Linked DNA regions of Homo sapiens: region 1 is linked to region 2. Evidence: promoter capture Hi-C in 16 types of primary human blood cells and fetal thymus (Javierre and others, 2016). All regions are on one chromosome and are shown on one strand. Each heading gives the region's core, a stretch centred on a gene start or on the middle of the fragment in contact. The rest is flanking DNA. Distances are from core to core; before and after follow the strand shown.

The links. Contacts are between HindIII fragments. The CHiCAGO score rates a contact against its expected background, and 5 or more counts as called.
Region 1: a fragment that was not itself captured here is called in contact with the fragment with the promoter of POGLUT3 in region 2 in 1 of 17 cell types (total CD4 T cells); the score reaches 6.0 in total CD4 T cells.

The regions. Positions count from the first base shown.
Region 1 is chr11:107,571,837-107,575,318 of GRCh38, reverse strand. No RefSeq gene overlaps it. Among named protein-coding and RNA genes, the nearest start is that of ALKBH8, 7.8 kb to the right of the region's middle. The HindIII fragment of the contact is 413 bases long and covers 1,857-2,269 here.
Region 2 is chr11:108,495,736-108,499,668 of GRCh38, reverse strand. POGLUT3 (protein O-glucosyltransferase 3) reads left to right here and starts at 1,285. Exons shown (of 8, transcript NM_153705.5): 1 at 1,285-1,504. The coding sequence starts at 1,303. LOC112267909 (a long non-coding RNA gene) reads right to left here and starts at 608. Exons shown (of 3, transcript XR_007062880.1): 1 at 19-608. RefSeq lists a silencer at 1,133-1,652. The HindIII fragment of the contact is 8,220 bases long and covers 1-3,933 here.

The DNA of each region.
Region 1 (3,482 bases), core at 814-3,313, 930 kb after region 2:
AAGACAATGCTGTTTGTCCTTTAGAAATATTATCTCATCTAAACTTTCAATTAAGACTCTGTATACACTATCATTCTTAAAGATTTTAAAAGTTATACTATGTAAACTACCCTGTATGTGTTTGCATAACAGATGCACCCACTTTAACAAAACATTTTTCACCTTTTTATGTCTATATTTTTGTCTCATTATACTTGGAATACTTCAAAATATAAAAAAGGACACGTCTTTTCTGCAATGGTGTCCCTCAGCAATAATGCATGCAGTTGGTAAAGGGGAAACCTTTGGGTTAGACTCCTGGCTTTATCACTAACTGTGTCAATCTTGGGAAAGTTGCTTAAACTCTCTGAGCCTCAGAGCTCATTTGTAAAATTGGGAGAATAAAACTTGTACGGTTATTGAAGGATTCAGGAATAGTGTATGTTAAGCACTTTGTGCTTGTAATAAAAGGTAGATGTAAAGAGGTACATGTTTTAACGTATAAAAGTTGGCCCTAGGCCGTGCACGGTGGCTCACACCTGTAATCCCAGCACTTTGGGAGGCCAAAGCGGGAGGATCACTTGAGGCCAGGAGTTCGGGACCAGCCTGGCCAACACGGTGAAACCCCGTCTCTACTAAAAATACAAAAATTAGCCAGGCGTGGTGGCAGGCACCTGTAATCACAACTACTCAGGAGGCCGAGGCAGGAGAATTGCTTGAACCTGGGAAGCTGAGGTTGCAGTGAACCAAGATTGCGCCACTGCACTCCAGCCTGGGTGACAGAGCAAGACTCTTGTCTCAAAAAATAAAATAAAAAATAAAATAAAATAAAAGCTAGCTCTTTTACTCATGCGATAACAGACATGGATGTAAATCACTCTTTAAAATATTTTATATTTAAATCCCAGCACTTTGGGGGGCCAAAGCAGGCGGATCATGAAGTCAGAAGATCAAGACCATCCTGGCCAATATGGTGAAACCCATCTCTACTAAAAATTACAAAAAAATTAGTTGGGCATGGTGGCGCATGCCTGTAGTCCCAGCTACTTGGGAGGCTGAGGCAGGAGAATCACTTGAACCCAGGAGGCAGAGGTTGCAGTGAGCCGAGACTGCATCACTGCACTCCAGCCTGGCAACAAAGCAAGACTCCATCTCAAAAAAATACAAAAATAAAAATAAAAAAATTTATATTTAAACAGCTCATACATTTTGTCTTTAAGTCTCAGTTGTTACATTTGTAAAATGGGATATAAGAGATGCCAAAAAGAGTTGTTTTTATTTTTTATTAAAAATTTTTTAAAAACTTTTGTCAAATTATAAAACATAATCTATTATTCTTTAATAATTTAATAATCTGAAATTTGAATCATCTGCTTCTTGGTCCTTGCACCTTATAAAATTAAAATACTTCCCTTGAAATGAGAATTCCAAATATACTAGAAATCTGGCAGCTTCTCACTCTGGGGATGATTTTTAAAGAGGTCTATGTTGACAAATAACATACAATCTTTTTCCTCAGTGGTTGAACACTTGCAAAAGTAGCAAAATTGCTTGTTAAACATGCAGGTTACTGGGCCCTGGCCCCAGAGATTTTGGAGCACACACTGTAACCAACTGGTGTTCAGAGAATTAAAATTTATATGTGCTTTAAGTTGACTCGTTATGTCTAGTGGGGTTGGAGACCACTTAACCAAGCACTTCAGTGATTCTGATGCAAGTAGTCTAAGAACCAGCCTTTGAGGAACATGCCCTAGTGCAGTGGCCTCTAAAGTGAAGTGTGTATGGCTTGTGGGATTTAGAAGAATATTCTAGAAATTCCATTTATATGTTTATCTAAAACAAATTAATCTCTATTCACATTTAATATCCTGGAAGCTTCATTAGGTGTGAATGTCTGATGTTACATGTCACAGACTTTATGAGAGGTGCTCTAGAAGAGGAGAGGAGTGAGAGCTCACAGGCAGGACAGCTGCCTCTGGCATCCTCCCTCTTTTGATTTAAGCGAGACATTATTTTTTTGTGGTGCCTGATAAATGGATTTTTGGATTATGTAATCCAAAAACTATTTTTTGCAAAATGGACAAGTGGGTTAGAAAACTCTGAATTCCCTACAGTGAAGATGAATATAGACAATAATTCAAGCACAAATAACCAACAGAAAATAGCAAAATTAATGCTCCTAGTATGAGCTCTCAGTCCCAACCTAACAGCTGAGACTATCTAATCAGATCTGACAAGAAGTCTACTCCCCAAACTAGAAGCGATCACAAATATAGTTAATAATGAAGCTTGCCCTCTCTGGGCAAATATCTTTGTGTCTTTGAGAAATTAATGATAGAATGAAGCCATCAATGTGGCAAGACATTTTTAAATGAAATGTTTATACATTTTTAAAATATACTTTTTTCTTCTACATTTAAGGGAAACATTTTTAAAAGATTTTGTTTTATTTTATCATAACCTTTTAAAATCCACAAATCCCACACCTCTAGCCACCCCAAAGATTTTCCTGCACCCTGAGTTGCCTGCTAGTTCTTTATTCTCATCTATTTAAAAAATCTGTGTAGAAAAGAAAATTATTCTGCAAAGTAAGCAGGCCTTTAGCCTCAAGAATAAATAGACCATTTGGGGGAGGTTAATGCTTCGTAGCTAAAATTGTATGCTTTGCAAATGACCAAAAAAAAAAAATAATAATAATAAATGAATTCTCCAAGCTGAGTTTTATGTTTTGTATTATAAATTAAAGGCTGACCCTTTTCCTTCTCCTCTGTTTTTTTTCTTGGTTACCTTTTGCCTCTAATTACTGTACAGGGAATACTTTCACCATATGACTTATAAAACTGCAAACTTTTCATTGAATTTTTATCACCATAGCGTGAATAATGTATTCAGTCCTGAAATGTCACAGTGAACATCAAATGGTTTTACATAATGCATTCTTGCTGAAGTTTCAAGAAGCCAGCAACCAGGGAAGCAGCAGAGAAGACACAACTTTGGAAAGAAAACTTGATACAAATTTGTCATTTTTCCAGGAGGAATAAAATAAGTAGCAGAAGAGTAAATGAGAGGAAAGACTGAGAAATAAAACTTTTTTTTTTTAAACCATAAATAGAAAAACAAGCAAAACTAGTACAGTTGCCACAGGGGACAACTGGAAGAAAAACTAGAAAGTAGCCAGAAACAGATGGTGGGGAAAGGGGCTGTAGGGAGAAGGGCGAGGTTAGAAACCTCATAACCATAGGAATTGAGTTTGAAACTGCAGTCAAACAGTTTCATAGTTTGGAACTACAGTAAAAATGTAACAATTTTCAAGGACTATTGGGGCCATTTTCAATTTTTTTCTGATTGAAGACTCTTGAACTAGAATACAATAGCTGTAAGAATTCTAGTTTTGGATGCTTTATTAGCTGATGAGAGTGCTCATTACTCTGTCGTCCAGGCTGGAGTTCAGTGGTGCAATCATAGCTCACTGTCACCTTGAATTCTTGGGCTCAAGTGATCCT
Region 2 (3,933 bases), core at 36-2,535:
AGAGAGGCAGATAGTAACCTTGACAATCTCTTCCTGGATCCAGCGTTCATCTTCTGAGGAGTGGTGGAGGTGGCTGAGACCAACCACGCACCACCACCCCTTCTCCCACTTCGATTACAGAGGCTTTGAGGTAAAGCTCGCACAAGGGCTCAAGGCAAGGCCTGGTCTTCTGCCACCCCAGTGCCCAGCTCCTCACTCTGGGCTTGGCCCAAACTCCGTGGATGTTCTGTAAACACCTGCTGGAAGAAGAGGAGTGCGGGAGGAAGCGGGGAAAGGGATGTGTGGGGTGGGGGGATCACGGTTCTGTGAGGGAGGCTGCTAAGCAGAAAAGCAACAAAACCGGCCACAAGAGAACGGTGCTGCTGTGAACAGAGGGCTGTGAGGGAGGGCGGGGGGCGTGACCTTGGCGCTCATCTTGTAAACTCGGAGACATTCCTTGGGAAAAGATATTTCCCTAAACTACATCGATCTTGGGGCCGGACCCTTTCATCGTCCCACAACAATCACCACCGGGTCTACGTCCTTTAAAAACACCTGAGCGGCGGACCCGGTGGCTCATGCCTGTAATCCCGGCACTTTGGGAAGCCGAGGCGGGCGGATTGCTTGAAACCAGGAGTTCAAGACCACCTTGGGCAACATAGGGAGACCCCGTCTCTACAAATAGTAATAGTAATAATAATAATAATAATAATAATAATAATAATAATAATAAATTAAATTAGCCAGCGTGGTGTCGTGTGCCTACAGTCAGTCCCAGCTACTCGGGAGGCTGAGGCGGGAGGATCTCCTGAGCCCACGAGTTCCAGGCTGCAGTGAGCTGTGGTCGCGCCATTGCACTCCAGCCTAGGCGACAGAGCCAGCCCCCTTGTCTGTATAAAAACAGAGAAAGAAAAGAGAAGAAAGAAGGAAAGGAAGGAAGAAAAAGAAAGGGAAAGACCACTGGAAGTGGAGGCCAGGCGTGCCTGAAGCCTTGGCAATCAACAGCCAGCGCACACTCGCAGCCTCGGTCTCTGGGCGGGCCTCTCCACCCCTTTCCTCCACGGGGCCTATGGGGCTGCGGGGAGGAAGGGGCGCACCCATCGTCGACCCCTACAGGGCGCGCAGTGGGTGATTGCGGCACTGGCTCGCGTTCCCGCCCGAGGGAGACGAGGCGGGACAGCGGGCGGGAAAGGGAGCCTGCGCCGCAATCTTTCCCGCCCGAAAGACCCGCCCCGCGGTGGGCCCCAGTCCCCGCCCGGTCCGCGGCGCTGCCGGCCCCTCCTCGCCGCCGCGGAGCTGGACCGCAGTTGTGCCCCGCCGACCATGCGCCGCCTCCCGCGGGCCCTGCTGCTGCAGCTGCGCCTCGCCCTGCTGGTGGCCGCGGGGGCCCCGGAGGTGCTGGTCAGCGCGCCGCGGAGCCTGGTGTGGGGGCCCGGGCTGCAGGCGGCCGTCGTCCTGCCGGTCCGCTATTTCTACCTGCAGGCGGTCAACTCGGAGGGCCAGAACCTCACTCGCTCTCCCGCAGGTAGTGTCCAGCCGCCGGCCTCCCTCGTCCCGCGGCCGGGTCCCCGCGCGTCCCCGCCGCCCGGGAGTCCGCCCGCGGCCTGCGTGGCGTCCCTCCCCGGCGTGTGTCGCCCCTTTTTGGGTCTGGTCAGCTCCTCTTCCCTCCTCCCGCCCATACTCAAAGCGGGCAAAAATCACCACGAAAGTTTGTGGAATGAATGAATGAATGAACTTGAAGGGCCCTTCCGCATTTAATGTGCAGGGACTGATGTTGCGAATGGACGGCGCCCGGGCGTTACAAGGAGTGTGCCGTGAGTCACACGTTGCCTTCCATCTCGGACTTAGTTGTCTGAACTGTGAGGGATTGCAGGGAGCGCTTTCCAGTGGTGAGTCATCAAGCCGACGGATCGCGTCGGATTACATGGCTTAGGCCTGGTGGGTTTGGAGCAACGAAATCCTACGCAGAGGAAATGTCAGAGCCGTAGGAAGGAGGAGGGGTTTACGTGTTAGTTTTTTGTTTCCTTTTTAGTTCTGAGTTTTTGAAAGCAGATTACAGGAACTAGGGAAACTCAGTAGAAATCATTCGGTTTTCCCTCCACGGAGGGTGAGATGGATCTCGTCCTGAATCCCTTTCTGCCCGGTCCTCCTCCCACGTTGTCCTTCACGTCTTAACCTTTGCAACTTCTTAAAACTTGTCCTGCTGGTTTCACGCTGTTGTCAGTCAGGATTTGCTAATGTATAATTTGGGGCTCTGGCCAACTAGCACCTTGTTGTATCAGCGAAGAGACAATTAGAATAAACCAGTGCCTCTGCCCCTGCTAGTCCAGCTGGGAACATAGCTGCCAGAAGTGTGTCCCAACTTGGGAAAGGGGTAAGGGGGTCTTGACAGCTGGGCAAAGCAGAGAATTTAGGAACCAAACATAATTCACTTTTAGATTTAATGATTTTTAAAATTTCATTCATTCAAGAAATACTTCTTTGATGTCTACTTCTGTGTTTGGTAATTCTGCTGGGAATCTAAGGATGAAAAGACAATGCCTGACCATCAAGGAACTTACAGTCTGTTGGTCAAAGACATGCAAATAACTGATCACTGTACAAGATAATTGAAGGTATGTACAGAGTGCAGTGGCAACATTGAAGCACTGCCAGAGACTGGAGAAATCCAGGAAGATTTCAGGAGCAGAGACTTGAAGGATGAGAAGGTTTGCTGGGCAGGCATATAGAAGGACGCCATGGCATGTGCAGAAGCACAGAGGCGTAGGAGACCGTGGTGTTCGGGAAAATAAGTACTGTAATTTAATGATACTGAGCGGAAAAGCCTGGTTGATTGTAGCCTCTGGTCTTCAAGCGCCTTGAATGCCAAGCAAATGACTTTATAACTAGATAAAAGAGAGCCACTGGAGAAATTTGAGCTGAGGCAAGAATCTGCCTCTCCCTTAACTACCTCAGTGGCTTGTTTTCTACATTTGATTCAGAACACCACTCCTGAAGTTGTCTTTGGGCATTGCTTTGATAACGTGTCTACCAGTTAGACCCTAAATACTCAGACAACTGGTTTCATATGCATGATATGCATTTAGGTAAAATAATTCCGACTCTATTGACAGAAACGCATGTGTGTATATCAGGGTTTCACAAACTTTTTCTTTAAAGGGCCAGATAGTAAATAATTTAGGCTTTGTAGGTGATATCATCTCTCACATTTATTCAGCTGTGCTTTGTAGCCATGGACATATAACAAACCCGTTTATGTTACAATAAAACTTTTTATGGCCACTGAAATTTCAATTTCATATAGTTTTCCATAAGTCACAGAATATTATTATTTTGATTTTTCTCCAACCCCCCTCCTCCTTTTTTTTTTTTAAGAGACAAGGTCTTTGTCACCCAGGATGCAGTGCAGTGGTACAGTCATAGCTACTGCAGCCTCAAATTCCTGGCCTCAAGGGATCCTCTTGCCTCAGTCTCCCCAAATGCTGGGATTACAGGCATAATCCACCATGCCCATCCCCATTTTAAAAATATAAGAATCATTGTTAGCTTACAGGATTTACAAAAACAGGCACTGAGCTGGATTAGCTAGTTTGTCAATCTCTAATGTATGTTAAAGACTCTCAGTTAAAATCCAAATGATACATGACTTAAAGTTGTGTATATGTTTTATATGTACATATATTATATATACATAAATATATTTAAACAAACGAAAAAGTTTACAGACAGTTTCTATTAAATATCTTAACAGAAGGAAAGTTACATTTATGATTCTGCATGGTTTACCCCTGTGATCTGTGACTTTTCTTTTTTTACCTTTTTTAGTCTTAGAAAGACTTCTCAGCCTGGGCAACATAGCAAGATTCCATCTCTACTTAAAATAAAAATTTTAAAAATTACCTACTTGGGAGGCTGAGGCAGAAGGATCAGTTGAGCCCAGGAGCTCAAGGTTGC